Regions from separate parts of the Homo sapiens genome. Here region 2 is linked to region 1. The links are contacts of gene promoters, found by promoter capture Hi-C in blood cells and fetal thymus (Javierre and others, 2016). All regions are on one chromosome and are shown on one strand. The core of a region is centred on a gene start or on the middle of the fragment in contact, and the rest is flanking DNA. Distances in the headings are between cores, read along the strand shown. Region 1 holds the start of REST (RE1 silencing transcription factor). Region 2 holds the start of DCUN1D4 (defective in cullin neddylation 1 domain containing 4).

Region 1 (7,518 bases), core at 1,825-4,324:
CTCAGTTCCATGTTTTCCAGTCCATGAGGTTCACCTTTTATATCAGCAGACTCTTCAAGTCCTTCTCCTTCTTCACTATCTGAAAAGTTGTTATCCCCAACCGGCATCAGTTCTGCCATCTGTCTTTCTTCACCGACCAGGTAATCACAGCAGCTGCCATTTACTTCCCCAGTTAAGGCCACATTTGCCAGCATAATAAGCTGAGGTGCGGCCAGTTCAGCTTTGGAAAGGTCATGCAAGTCATACATGTCGTTAGGCAGGGCCATTCCAATGTTGCCACTGCTGGTAAACAGCCCTCCTCCTCCAGAAGACTGCCCCATTACCTGGGTGGCCATAACTGTATTCTGAATTAAAAACAAAACAAAACAAGAGCACCAGTTTAAACACTACTGTTACTGGCTTAAAACCACATCGCTGTAATTCTTCATAACTTAAAAATTTTCCAGTATGATCTTTATAACTCAGTAAACTTCATCGCCTATTAAAAACAAATCTTTAAAATAGTTGTTAATTCCCAATAGTCTACTGCAATCACCAAAAAAAAATTTCTACTATCCCTATAAAACAATTCTACCAATTGTTTGCACAACTCATTCATCATTCAGCCACTGGCATGTGGTGCCTCCTCAAGCACTTTTAATTGTTCTGGTGGGGATAAAAAGTAACCTTCATTTTTACTGTTAAAATTATTTTAAAAATTCAAAACATGAGTAGTAAATTATTGTCCTCCCAACTTTTCCCCCCTTCAACAGTTCAATGGTCTGAATCAGAAAGCCCAGAAATCCACAAGCCATTCAGTGCATTTATTAAGTACACAAACACATCTGGAAAGTACAAGCCTGTAATAATTGTTCAACTTAATTGGATTTCGCATGAACTCAACTAACTCCAAAAGAATAAACTACTGTGAAAAAGTAGCAGTCAGCCCCTTAATTTTTCGACAACTCCACAGGCTTAAAAGAAAAAACATTTATGGACCCCTTTTCTTGTGAAAAAGGAAGTTTGATTTATTCAAAACTTCACAAATAAAAATTAATAAGCTTATTTTTCTGCAGGCTGAAGTTCCACAACACTGAATTCCAAGCTTTTCAATACGAATAAAATCATCGTGCAACTCAACTCGACAATCAGCAACTTTCTTGCATTGTGCTTGACTTGGCCTACTTGCCTAGTGGAAGCCATTACAAGATCACCTTCTTCAAAACAAGTTGGGCTTTCTAGATGCTACGTTACTTCTCAATCTAAAAGGTGCCATTCTCAAACGAAGTGTTCACTCGCAAATTAAAAAAAGTAAGAAGTTCTAAGAAAATAAAGTTAAACCGAAAATACAAAAAGTAACCCGCTTCACCCAAGTGTATAAACACAAACCGGTTTAGTTCTACGTACCAACAAAAGTTGGAAGCAAATGCCATCACAGAAAACAGAGGGCGAAGGCTGTCCCGGGGCTGAACAGCCCAAGCTATTGGGTAATTTGGCCCAACATCGACTTTTCTAATTGCTCCCTAACCCCTAACTGCCACCCCAAATGGAATTTTAACGATTGTTAGGAAGACCGTCCAGGCACAGCCCGAAAGCCCAACGTGCTGCACGAATTCCTCCGTGCTGCTGCCACCAGCGCCTGCCTCGGCGGCGGCATTCCTAACTGAAATAGGCATTCGGCCATTTTCTCAAAATACCAAACACAAAGCAGCTCTTTGCAAACTCGGGCGCTCTCGCTTCCTCTCGCCTCGGCCCGCTCACTGCACACATTTACACACCAACTCGCGGGAGTCGCCCCGACACTCGTCCTGAGCCTTTTCCTGCGCTCTCCAACACTAAAACGGGGGAGGGGATCAAGCTCGAGGCGCTGTTTGGCCGGAACCAGTCCTCCCCGAGTCCAGGCAGCCCCCTCCCCAGCCCTAGGGCCCCCGTCCCGGGAGAGGACGGAAAGTTACCGCGCAGCCGGCGTCCGGGCTTCTCCGACCGCCCCCGGGCCCCTCCGACCGCCCCGGGGCTCGCCCAACGCCCAGGGCCGGGGAGGCTCCGCGGGCGCCCTCGCGAGGCGTCGGGCTCCGAGCGCCGGAGGGGGCCCCCACACGGGCCAGCCGCCACCCCCGCGCCCCGGAAGTTTGCGAACTTCACTCCCCCACGGCGCCCGGCAGGACGCGCGCCCCAGCCCCGCCAGCTCCAGCGGTCGGGTGGCCGGACGCGGGGGCCAGCGGCGCCGGACGGCTGAAGCGCAGAAATCGCTGTCCAGCCCCGCAGGCGGAACCGCCCGGGCCCCGGGGCTGACTCAACCCGCCCGGCCGCACTCAACGGCGCCTTCCGGCGACAGGGAGAGGCCCTGGGGGAGGGGGCCAGGAGGGCCGCGGGCCGGCGCGGGGCTGCGGTGGGACCCGGGGGCAGGAGGAGGAAGCAGAGGAAGTTTCAGGACTACGGGCCCGAGCAGCTCCGCTCCTTGGCCTCAAAGGACCTGACTCGGTGGAGCGTCCGGGCCAGCGCGGAGGCGGCGTCCCAGCCTCCAGTGGGGAGGGGGTCCAGGCGACGCGCTGCTCCCAACAAACGCCCCCAGCCCCCGGGCGGCTGCTGTGTAACCCGATCCTGCTCGGCCGCCAGCCCCCGCCCGGCGGGGCCGCCGCCGCCGGAGCCACAGTATCTGCAAATCAGCCCTGGACAGCGCCTGACTCCGCGTCCTTCCGCGCCCTCCCCGTCCCGCCACTGCCGCCGCCCGGGCGGCCCTCCCCCACCCTGACCGAGCCCCCAGCCCAGCGCCCCACTTACCGGCCTTCCTCGGTGAGGAGGGGCGGGCGACCCTGAGTCGCCGCTCCTTCTCCGACTACTTTTCTTTGTTGCTGGAGTTTCGGGGGAGAGGTGGGGGAGGGTGGTAAAGTTGGGTGCTGGGGCCGTCGTGGACCAAGAAGGCCCAGGAGTGGGGCTGCAGAGGGTGCTCAGGCCTCCGGGCCTCGCCCTGCCGTCTCGGCTGCGGCAGCCGCCGCCAGGGTCTGGGGCCCCGGGCCTCGGCGGCGCTCGCTCCGCTGCTGCGCCGCGAGCTCGCGGCAGCCGCACATTCCAACACAGGACGCTGCGCCGCGCACCCAGTCCGCGCCGCCGCCGCCGCCACCGCCCGCGGGACACGCCCCCTCCGACGCCCGCGCGCGCCCGCGAGACACGCCCCCTCCGACGCCCGCGCGCGTGGCCGCTAGGCGCGCCCCGCCCCTCTACCAAGCAAGGAGTGCCCCAGTCTCCAGCTCGCCTGGGGGCGCGTCTAGGGGGAGCCGCCCGTAATCCTCCCGGCCCCTCACTCCTGCCCTTAGGTCAGAAAAGAGGCGGGCCCCACTCCCTTTCTCGATTTCTATTACAAACAAACAACAAAAGTTCCCCCCAGCCCTGGCGTGCATGCATGAGAATAGAGCTGTTAAAAGAAGAATCCGCAGGCTTTGACGGGTCTCTTTAGAGCTATTGTCACCGGCCTCTCAAGTCTAAAGCGCTCCAAGATACCCTTCAGATCTCTTCAAGTCTCCACCCATAGCTGTCCTTGACTAATTAAGCTTCGTTTTAAGCGTCTGCGGTAAAAAAAAAAAAAAAAAAAAAAAGTCTTCCAAATTTCAAACTACCGGAGGGGGAATGCAGTCAGTTTGGGAGAAGTGAGAAGAAAACGTTTCAGGAAGGAGGTTATGGACTCAGAAAGCGTGAGCGTGAGGACTGAGGGGACAGATCCCTAGACGTGGCAGGTAGCAGGTCATTGCTGAGCCCGGAAAGCACGACTGCAGGGGAGGAATTACCCTCAGATGACAGAAGAAAAGGTGGTGAGGACGGGGAGGCTGCCTGGGGCCACGGTGTGTCGGAGTAACCGGGCTCACGTCTATGAAGCGGGATAACCAAGCGGAATGCCTAGCCCATAGTCATGTGCTAACAAAAACAAAAACAACAAAAAAGAACAGAGAGAGAGTAATTCCACCCCCTTTCACACCTGAAAGAGCTTCTCAGTCTGCCTTTGATACCTTCCTAAACGTCAGTCGTAAGTCACACCTGTCCTCAGAAGCATAGTGGCTCCCCATGACTACAAGCTTAAAGCTTAAACCCCTTAGTGTGGCGTTCAAGCCCCTACTTAACTTGACCTAGATAAGTCTGACTATTGCTTGGTATTACAACATAAGTAGCAAGTGCTATGGGGGTTTGCCAGTAGGAAGATGGATCCCAAGAGGTTCTAGAAACTTTTCACAGTAGATGTATTCAGTCTGACCTTGGAGAATGAGGAAAACTTCAACAGGTGGAAAGTAGGGCAAGGAACACTCTACACAGTGAAAAGGGCAAGCTCAAAATCCCAAAGCAGTTGTTAAGACATCCCAGCTTCTCCTCAGGGTACCTCACTTCCTTCTCTTTGAAGTTCCTTTATTTGTTTCTCTTAGGGCAGGGCTTCCAGACTCTTCATTTCCTGGTATACCCACGTAGGACCTCTGTTTCCCTCTATCTGGACAATATATTACTAATTAATGCAGTCTCCGATGCAAGATGAAATGAAGACCCTAAGGTGCTCGACCACCAAAAGTTTCAATGAGGCAATTTCAAATGTAACACCTCTCCATGAATCAAACCTGAAAAGTATTCATTTTCATTGAACCAAAGAGACAGGAAGGAAGGGAGGGAGGGAGGGAGGAAAGGAAGATCGACATTTTTAGGACTGGTACAAACTTTTCTATATATATTTTATTTGTTTAACTAAAATCAAGTTTGAGGTCACATGGCTTTTTTAGATGCTGTAGCCCAGGGTACAATTCAGGCCTCTACCAAGGTTGTCAAAGACATAAACTTGTTTTCTTTCCCTTTTTTAGGTCCAAAAAGGCAAAAATGAAATGTCTCTTGTTAAACTTACTAAATGTCCTTCATTTCCTCAATCTGACTGCTTACTGGAAATGTCTTATTAATTGCAAATTTATTCCCACATATTGTGATGCAAATAGAAGAATGGCGAATGGGCAGCTGCATTCATTTAAAATTAGCAGAGGCCCTTGTTCAAGGGATGGCATATTCAGAGTGACCCAAATTATCATGACATGAAGGCCACAGGTCAAATTCATAGGCCAAATTACAAATCAATTGAAAATTTTCTTGAGGGAAGCTGTTGCTATGAACTTGAATTCCTAACTGTTTTTCAAAAGTCTGTATTTTACTTTGCTGTATCCAAACTTTAGGATCTTCTGCAAGATAAAAACTCTGAAATGAGAATGAGTTCTGCTTTTCTTATATGGTTTTTTTCCTGCATATTTAACTCATCAATTTTTTTATTTTAATTATCATATGTTCTTAATAGTATTTTCTCTAGAGAGATTTCTTTCTTTTTTTTTTTTTTTTTTTTTTTGAGACAGAATTTGGCTCTTTTTGCCCAGGCTGGAGTGCAATAGCACGATCTCGGCTCACCGCAACCTCCGCCTCCCGGGTTCAAGCAATTCTCCTGCCTCAGCCTCCCGAGTAGCTGGGATTACAGGCATGTGCCACCACGCCAAGCTAATTTTGTATTTTTAGTTAGAGACGGGGGTTTCTCCATGTTGGTCAGGCTGGTCTCGAACTCCCAACCTCAGGTGATCCGCCTGCCTCGGCTTCCCAAAGTTCTGGGATTACAGGCGTGAGCCACCACACCTGGCCAATTATATATATATATATATATTATTTTTTTTTTTGACATGGAGTCTTGCTCTGTCACCCAGGCTGGAATGCAAAGGTGCGATCTCGGCTCACTGCAACCTCCACCTCCCGGGTTCAAGTGATTCTCCTGCCTCAGCCTCCCGAGTAGCTAGGATTACAGGCACGTGCCACCTTGTCTGGCTAATTTTTGTATTTTTAGTAGAGATGGTGTTTCACCATGTTGGCCAGGCTGGTCTTGAACTCTTGACCTCAGATGATCCACCTGCCTGGGCCTCCCAAAGTGCTAGGATTACAGGTGTGAGCCACCCCGCCTGGGAGTCTTGCTCTGTCGCCCAGGCTAGAATGCAGTGGCAAGATCTTGGCTCACTGGAACCTCTGCCTCCTGGGTTCAAGCAATTCTCCTGCCTCAGCCTCCCGAGTAGCTGAGATTACAGGCACCCGCTAGGACGCCCAGCTAATTTTTGTATTTTAGTAGAGATGGGGTTTCACTATGTTGGTCAGGCTAGTCTCGAACTCCTGACCTGAGGTGATCCACCCGCCTCGGCCTCCCAAAGTGCTGGGATTACCTGTGTAAGCCACCGAGTCCAGCCAGCATCATCTACTCTTGCTGCCGGTTGGACTCTGACCTCTTGTTCTGGTTCTGATAACTGGAATAGTGTCTTACTCATTATAGGCATCAACAGCTTGAGCCAGGGAGGTTTTCCCTTCATGCTGAGAAGGGAAGGAGGTGAACAAGAGAACTTGAGACTTGAGCTGGGCTCCTTCCTGCCTTCTTTTGGAGCCTAGATCACATTTGGAACCCGCTCCCATTTTCGTCCAATCCTAATGCCCTTCCCTGCTGTTTCTGCTCCCATTTTCGTCCAATCCTAATGCCCTTCCCTGCTGTTTCTGTCTCTAACATTTATTACTAACATGCTAGGTATTTTTATTTATTTACCCTACTTAGGAACTTAAGCTCCAGAAAGGCAGAGACATTTTTTTATCCCCAGCACCTATAACTCGTTAGTTGCTCAACAAATATTAGTTAGATGAATGGTTACAAAATCCTAGCTTGGTATCACAATCTCTCAAAGTGGGGACCATCCTTACCCATGTCGGTACCCAACGTTCAGTACCCATCACAGTCTTCCCTCATGTTAAGCATGAGCCTGCCTCCTTGAATCTCCCTAATAACTACTGTTAAATAAATTAATGCTCCTGGATCCCTGGTCTTGGGGTTCTACCCTCCTGGTGAAAATCTCCCTGCCTGCTCTTCTGCATATTGTATTCCTAGCACATTCCTGATTTCACGCATCAGCCTCTGGTTGGATATTCCTTGGTGATCATTAACAATCTGTTTTGGCCAGGTGCGGTGGCTCACGCCTGTAATCCCAGCACTTTGGGAGGCTGAGGCAGGCAGATCACCTGAAGTCGAGAGTTCTAGACCAGCCTGACCAACATAGAGAAACCCTGTCTCTACTAAAAATACAAAATGAGCTGGGCATGGTGGCACACGCCTGTAATCCCAGCTACTTAAGAGGCTGAGGCGGGAGAATGGCTTGAACCTGGGAGGCGGAGGTTGCGTGAGCAGAGATCGTGCCAGTGCACTCCAGCCTGGGCAACAAGAACAGAACTCCATCTCAAAAAAAAAAAAAAATGTTTCAACCTTAGGTATCGTTCCATTTGATGGGTTTAAATACAAGTTACATAGCCTATCAACTGCATTGCTCTGCCTCTCTCTTCTCTGGCCTTTACCATTGTCCTTCCTTCCAGAATTCTCCCTCCAAATGTTATGTAGGCCACAAAATGTCACAAATGCAAGAGATCTTAGAGGTGCAGGCTCTTGTTTTATATGTAAAAGGAGACAGGCCTACAAGCTTTTGGCTTGTCCAGGTTTGCACAAGTAGTTAGGGCACA
Region 2 (7,518 bases), core at 3,706-6,205, 5.1 Mb after region 1:
CCCGTTTCCACAGTTACCCACGTGCACCCAACCCAACCGCGGCCGGGCGCGGCCGCGACTACAAGTCCCAGAATTCGGCGGGACCGCCTTTCCCCTTCATACCCGTTGACTGGAGACAAACCCTAAAGGAAACCCCTCAAGCGCCCTCCCAGCACGCCTGGGAGAAGTCGCGCCCCCCGGGCGTGGGGCGCGGCCTAGGGCCCGGCCATCCCTCTAAGGAAGCGGGTTCCATGGCACCAACCCCCACACCTGATAGCCAGAAATTAGACAACTGCGTCACAGACTATCAAACCCACGGACTGCCAGGGACCCCGACACCTCCCCGGCGCCAAGCCCCCGACCCGGCCATCAGGGCCCGACCCCTCCGGCTCCCGCTGCTGAAACCCCGCAGCCCGCACCCCTGCCCCGCCTCCTAGTCCCGCTGCCGGAGCCCGCGCCAGCGCTGACCTCGCTTCCCGCCGTCCGGGGGGAACCACGGCCAGTTCCAACCTTAGGGCACTTACCCCGTCTCCTCCACCTCAGCCCCGCCCCCTCCTCTCTCCGCACCCCGAAGCTTGGACTCCCCCCTTCAAGGGACCCTGCCTCGACAGGGAGAGGAAGTACCTCCCCTAAGCACAGTCTGACACCCCCTTAGCCCGGCTCCGGACCGAATCTGGACGTGACAGTCCTCCTGCCCAACTCCGCCCCACCTCCCCTTCCTCCCCGACTAGCTCCTCACCCCCATTTCATATTCTCCACCCCTGCCCCCACTCTGCCACCCCAAATCCTACCCACCTTTTTCTCCTCTTCCTCCCAATCGCCCTACCCTTCCACACCTGCCCCATCTCTTTACCCCAACATCTTCCACTCCCACCACTCTCCGTTACCCACCGCCCTTCCAACGCCCCTCCCGCCCCGCAGGACTCCCCAACTACCATTACACCCCAGTCCCTCCCACCACCTCGCTTTCCCGTTACATCAGCCCTCGTCCAGTCGCCCGCCCTCCTGCCCCGCTCGGCCGCTGCCCCCATTCCCCCACCCCATTGTTCGCCGCCCCCCCCCCACCCCCCCGCCAACCAGCCCTTCTTCCCATTGTCCCCGCCCCCGCGCCCCCCTCGCACTCACCCGCCTTTCTCACGGAGCCGCCCGCACCACTCAGCCCTTTGGAAATCCTCACCCTTGTGCCCCGCTCGCTCGCTCGCTCCCTCCCTCTCCCCGCCGGTGCCACCCCCCCACATCCCCGGCCCTGCCCGCTACAGCCCAACGCTGCCTCCACCTCCATGCACCCCGGACACTCCGATCTCGGCCCTTCATCGCACGTCCAGCCCTCCCTTCCCCCAACACTGAAAGAGAGCCAGTCCCCACCCCCCTCACCTCCGCCCTCCCCGCAGGCCGGTCCCTTCCCCCCACGCCCGCCCCCGCCCCACGCCGCCCGCAGCGTCACCGCCCGCCCCGGCCCCGGGAGGGGAAGGGGTGGTTCCCAGGCAGGGGCTCCCGGCGCGTTTCGGGACCCGAGGCGTGGGGCGGGGACTGCGGGAGCCGAGTGGCGAGTTTGGCAGCCGCCCGGCCCCGGCCCGCTGGCTGGCTCTCTGCTACTCACTGACAGCGGCGGCATCCGAGTGCATTTTCAGGCAGCTCACACCCGGCTCGCCGCCCAGGCTCCCGCGCTCGCCTCGCGGTCCCCCCACCAGCTCACTGCACCTCGGCTCGAAGCTGAGGACCCGCCGCCGGGCACTCCCAGCCCGCCCATCTCGCCTTCTCCATTGGCTAAACCGCGGCTCAGGGGCCGCCCTGCTGCGTCTCTCATTTGACAAAAGGAGTGCCCATAGCGCCGGTCTGGAGCTGGCAACGAGGCCCCGCCCCCCACTGGCCAATACGATTGGTCCTGGGGCCTTGTCTCCGTAACGCCCCTGGCGGAGGCCATGCTCCGGAGCAGCGGGTTGGGCCCGGCTGCTGTCAGTCACCCCCAGGGGTCCGAGAGCGCGTGTAGGGGCGAAGCTGGGAAATTGGTCCACCTTGACCCTGAAACCCCGCCCAGTGGCGGGCGGGATTGGTGGAGCTGGAGACCCACCAAGAAAGATGGGTCGGCGTCTGAAACAAAGCACGCGAAGTGTTTCCCAAAGAATAGAGCAGCGCAGCGCAGTTGGGGGCGGCTCGTACCAGCTGCTGGAAGTAGGGAAATGCGTCCGTCCCTAGCGCCCGGCGCGACGCGGCCGGGTCTCCCGCCACTTGTCCCACGACACTTGTCCAGTTCGCGCCGAACTCGGACTGGGACTTCTCTTGTCAGCTGCTTCCTACCGCAGGAAACTGGATTAAGAATTGCCGCGTCTTAATTTCCAGCAAACCTTCTGGTGGGGAGCAAATTTCCATTTCTCCTACGAAGATCCATCCTCTCCCCACTTTCGAAATGTACTTCTTTTCCAGAGTCCGCATACTTGTTTCGCAGAGTTCGCACACTTCTTTCCTCTAGTCACTAATGTCTGTTAAAGAGGCTTCGAATGCCACGAGCATTGTCCGTCACACACATCTGTATGCCCCAGACATCAGACAGAAATACAGGGCCGCGCTCTGAGCTGCGGACTGAGCCTAACACATGGACGAGTCCAGGGGGCAGACCACCAGCCCGTGAAAGACCCCCGGCGGCATCTAAGAAAACCTGTCACTCCCGCGGAGAGGCCGTCCAGAAATTGAAACTGGCTGTTATTTGGCAGAGGGAGACGTTAATTTTGGTGAATTCTTCTGACCCTAAGTCAAGAATTCGCACCATTTCCATGAGTCCTGCCCTGATTTTTCAATACTTGAAGCTAACTTATCACACCGCATTATGGTAACAGAACAATATTTCGAGATATTAACGGAGGATTCCCCCCACCCCAACCCACCCCCACCCTACCCTGCCTCCACCCTCATCCCAGCCACCAACTCCAACAACAACACACCTACAAGGCATCCCCATATCCTAAGGCCCTGGGCCATCTGGGAGCCTCAAAGAGTAGGTGACACCACAAATCACAGGTAACAGAACGCACGGTCTTTTTGGTTTTAGATTTCTACAGCCCAGGCTTTTGGGTTTCCAGGCTCTGAAATTTAGATTTTAAATCAGGACACAAATGTTATGCTATTTGGAAGGGGCTCAGACAAACCAGTTTCTGTGTCCCACAGCACTCCCATGGTAAAATGCTCCCTCCATCTTAATCGCTAATTTCTCTTTAATAAATTACATCCTTATAATACTATTTATATAATATTTTTATCATTCAAACATTTATGAATCACTTTATGGAATCTCAGAACTGTACCTGAAGTTATTTATTATTTGCTTCAGGTTCTTTCGCAAGACAAGAATCTCTCATAGAACATCCTTATTGATCACCTTTATCATGACAGTACCTCAGCGGGGCCCCACAGTGATGGGTAGGTACCTCTGGACTCTGAGATAGGGGATTGCTTGTTGGGCAGATCTAGCAGTAAGAATATCCGCCCTTACTCTGAGCAGGGAAGCTGCTCCTGCATTCTTTATTCTATTTATGTTTCAGCTTAATCTACATCTAGGAAATAATAAATTATATGTCATTTAATACAAGTTTCAAATCTTTTGTGTGTGTAATATTTATGATTTTTTTTTTTACCGTTTACCATGGTACTTCAAAGACTGAGACACATGTTATTTTGCACAGAAAAGGGCTTCCTTCGTGACACCTCTAAATTACAATAAGCCCACAATTAATTATAGCTAGTCATTTGCTCTATTAATTTATTTGCAGCATACTTTATAATAATGTGTATAAGAGTTAAGCTAGATGAAGGATGGGTCGGCTGCTTTGCCCCAGCTCCCAACACTGGCCTGGCATATGCATGGTGTCCATAAAAATTTATAGAATGTACAACCTCTGTTATTTCTCAACATTGCTTTCAGTTGAGTCAGTATGATTATTTTCAAGTAGAAAACAGACTTAGAGGTAATTTACCCAGATCTTTATAAAGAGTCAGCTATAGCCTAAGGATTGAGAGGCAAAGCTCATTCCTAGTCGGCTGACCCTCACTGCCCCCACGTTTTACAAAGTATAATAAAATGACTACATAATGCTCTGCAAATATTACCTGGTCATTTAAATAATCCACACCATATAAACCTCTGATATCAGGAAACTTGTTATAGTTATCTTTTTACTTGCCTAGCACCTAGTACAATGCTTTCAAATATTGTGGTAGGCACTGGTTAACCATACCCCTTAAAATGAATGTTTACCGTACATGAAATTTTAGATCTGGATAGGAACCTTGGTGATTATCAAATCCAACATCTTCATTTTAAAAATAAGAGACTTGACATCCAAAGGAGTTAAATGTTTAATCTGAGTCACTTGGCTAGTTGATAACAAAACAGGGCTTAAATTCAGGTTTCTCAACTCTATCCCCTGTACCACACTGTCTAATATCAAAGCTTCAAATTCCAAAGATAGGTAAACTACTCTCCCTTCCCATCTGAAAGTTACTATGCCAATCTAATACAAGTCTGCTTCATGGTTGAAATGTTGCCTTCTTTTTTATGTATTTCATTCAGGATTTTTTTCAATATGTAAATCAATACTTCACTTTTTTTTTTCTCATTTGTAGTATTCCCAAAGAACATGATCCCCATGGAGAGGTTTACTGAGATAATAATGTTATACTTCTGTACATTTATATTTGAATCCCTGGAGAAAAAAATTAATAATTGAATATCTTGGGACTGTGATGGGTAGAGATATTTGGAGATGCAGTCTTTATGCCATTTCATTTCACCCAGTTACTGCTTTAAGGTAATATTGAAGCAAGTTACTCCATGTTAATGATACCTAATTTAATTGGAATTTTTCTATTTTATTAGTCATACAATATTAATTTTAATCAGATATATTTTGAAATGCCCTAAGCCTAGATTAGAATGTGATATGGAGAAGTCTAGTAAGAGAAAAAAAACAGCAGAGCTCTTCAATCAAATGTTACGCTTTCCCCTAAATTCTGCTAAGCCCACTGTAGCATGCTTTTCCTGCATGTGTTGGGATTGGGAGTAGGAGGAAGAATAGCATAGTTCTTGAGACTGAAAATAAGTTGGGCCTGCACAGACAGATAAATGTGTCCCTGGTAAGATTTAAAGAGAATAAGAAAGAACACAGGACAGAGAGGAATTAATTTGGCCTTAGATTACAGTGAGAGAGTTGGCAGAACTCCTTTAGTAATAAAATGTCAGGCTAGGTGGGTTTCTAGTATTTGGAAATGAAAATAAACCCCCTCCGAAAGGAGAATTTATCCATAGAGGGCAGGATAGTTTTCTTTCTCCAAATATGACCAACTGAATTTGCTGTCCCAAGTGATAACAACTTCTTTCTTAATGCTTCCTATGTGACGGGCACTACTCTAATAGTACTGTACTGGTAAACTAATCTACTTAACTTCACAACAACACAGTGGAGTACTAATAACTAATAGTATCCCCAATCTACAGGTAAGTTAACTGAAGCTTCAAGAGCTTCGGTAACTTGCCACCCAGCTAATAAGTAAACGTGCCCCTAAGTAGCCAGACTCCATGTTTTTAATATTCCTGTGTTGGGCTTTAGTTTCTTTCTTTCTTTCTTCCTTTCCTTCTTTTCTTTCTTTCTTTCTTTCCTTCCCTCCTTCCTTCCTTCCTTCCTTCCTTCTCCTTTCTTCCTTCCTTCCTTCTCCTTCCTTCCTTCCTTCCTTCCCTCCCTCATTCCCTCCTTCTCTCCTTCCCTTCTTCCTTCCTTTTCTCTCTCTCTCTCTGTCTCTTTTGAGACGGAGTCTCACTCTGTCGCCCAGGCTGGAGTGCAGTGGTGGGATCTCCATTCACGGCAACCTCTGCCTCCTGGGTTCAAGTGATTCTCCTGCCTCAGCCTCTCAAGTAGCTGGGATTACAGGCACACGCCACCACACCCGACTAATTGTTGTGTTTTTAGTAGAGACGGGGTTTTGCCATGTTGGCCAGGATGGTCTCAAACTCCTGACCTCAGGTGATCTGCCCGCCTCAGTTCCCAAAGTGCTGAGATTACAGGCATGAGCCACCGCACCTGGCCAGTTCCTTCTCTTTTTAATCAGGTTAATATATGCCCCTATATACCTCAGAGATTATTTATAAGGATACAATAATATGGTTGTTAACATGCTCTCAAAAGATAGTGAAATCAGGCTGGGCATGGTGGCTCATGCCTGAAACCCCAGCACTTTCGGAGGCTGAGGTGGGTGGATCACTTGAGCCCAAGAGTTTGATACCAGTCTGGGCCAACACAGGGAGACCCTATCTCTACAAAAAAATGCAAAATTATCTGGGTGTGGTGGCAGCTGCCTGTAATCCTAGCTACTCAGGTGGCTGAGGTGGGAGGATCCCTTGAGCCCTATGGGTGGAGGCTGCAGTGAGCTGAGATCACGCCACTGCACTCCAGCCTTGGTGACAGAATGAGACCCTGCCTCAAATAAATAAATAAATAAATAAAGTGAAACCAGGCCTCTTTTTAGGGATGAACATCTAGCCACTCAGGCTCCTTTTATAGATCTATATAATGAAAAGTATGGGTCAGAAGGATTACATCCAGGTTACTAAATTCTTATTTATTTTACCCTTTTGACCTTATCCCCACAGCAAATGAGATTATTTATTCAGAGTGTCTAATGAAGCTCTGCTGAATGTTATAAATTCTCGACTTCGATATATCACTGAGAACCCAGGCTGGAGTGCAGTGGCATGATCTTGGCTCACTGCAATCTCCATCTCCTGAGTTCAAGTGATTCTTGTGGCTCATCGTGTAGCTGGGACTACATGCGTGTGCCACCATGCCCGGCTAATTTTGTATTTTTAGTAGAGACAGGTTTTCACCATGTTGGTCAGGCTGGTCTCTAACTCCTGACTTCAAGTGATCTGCCCGCCTCAAGCCTCTCAAAGTGCTGGGATTGCAGGTATGAGCAATAGTGCCTGGCCCTATACTTTTAAATTTTCTAGAAAATCCTGATATCTTTCCTCATGAAGGAGCCATCTTAGAAATCTCTCAGAAAAGCTAAGAATTTTCCAATTATATTTGACATCTGTGTTTCAGTTTTAATTTCGTTTAGCAATGATTTTTTTTTGCCTCTCCTGGATATAGAGAAAATATCATTTATTTGTAAATTATTTCTAACTTCTAAGATTTCTTTTTTTTTTTTTTTTTTTTTTTTTTTTTTTGAGACGGAGTCTCGTTCTGTCGCCCAGGCGGGAGTGCTGTGGCGCGATCTCCGCTCACTGCAAGCTCCGCCTTCCGGGTTCACGCCATTCTCCTGCCTCAGCCTCCCGAGTAGTTGGGACTACAGGCGCCCGCCACTGCGCCCGGCTAATTCTTTGTATTTTTAGTAGAGACGGGGTTTCACCGTGGTCTCGATCTCCTGACCTCGTGATCCGCCCGCCTCGGCCTCCCAAAGTGCTGGGATTACAGGCGTGAGCCACCGCGCCCGGCCTAAGATTTCTTAACACATCACTATCAGGGTAGCATTAGCAAGTCTTTTTGCTAATAT

What was found. Contacts are between HindIII fragments. The CHiCAGO score rates a contact against its expected background, and 5 or more counts as called.
Region 2: a fragment that was not itself captured here is called in contact with the fragment with the promoter of REST in region 1 in 5 of 17 cell types (naive CD8 T cells, total CD8 T cells, total CD4 T cells and 2 more); the score reaches 7.9 in naive CD8 T cells.

Annotation. Positions count from the first base shown.
Region 1 is chr4:56,903,456-56,910,973 of GRCh38, reverse strand. It overlaps REST (RE1 silencing transcription factor), which reads right to left and starts at 3,074. Exons shown (of 4, transcript NM_005612.5): 1 at 2,761-3,074; 2 at 1-344. The coding sequence starts at 335. RefSeq lists enhancers at 828-1,757, 2,688-3,617 and silencers at 1,848-2,697, 2,808-3,197, 3,297-3,591. The HindIII fragment of the contact is 2,443 bases long and covers 1,087-3,529 here.
Region 2 is chr4:51,837,329-51,844,846 of GRCh38, reverse strand. It overlaps DCUN1D4 (defective in cullin neddylation 1 domain containing 4), which reads right to left and starts at 1,694. Exons shown (of 11, transcript NM_001040402.3): 1 at 1,580-1,694. The coding sequence starts at 1,604. RefSeq lists silencers at 467-586, 1,137-1,216, 1,317-1,666, 1,757-1,806, 1,817-1,966. The HindIII fragment of the contact is 1,059 bases long and covers 4,426-5,484 here.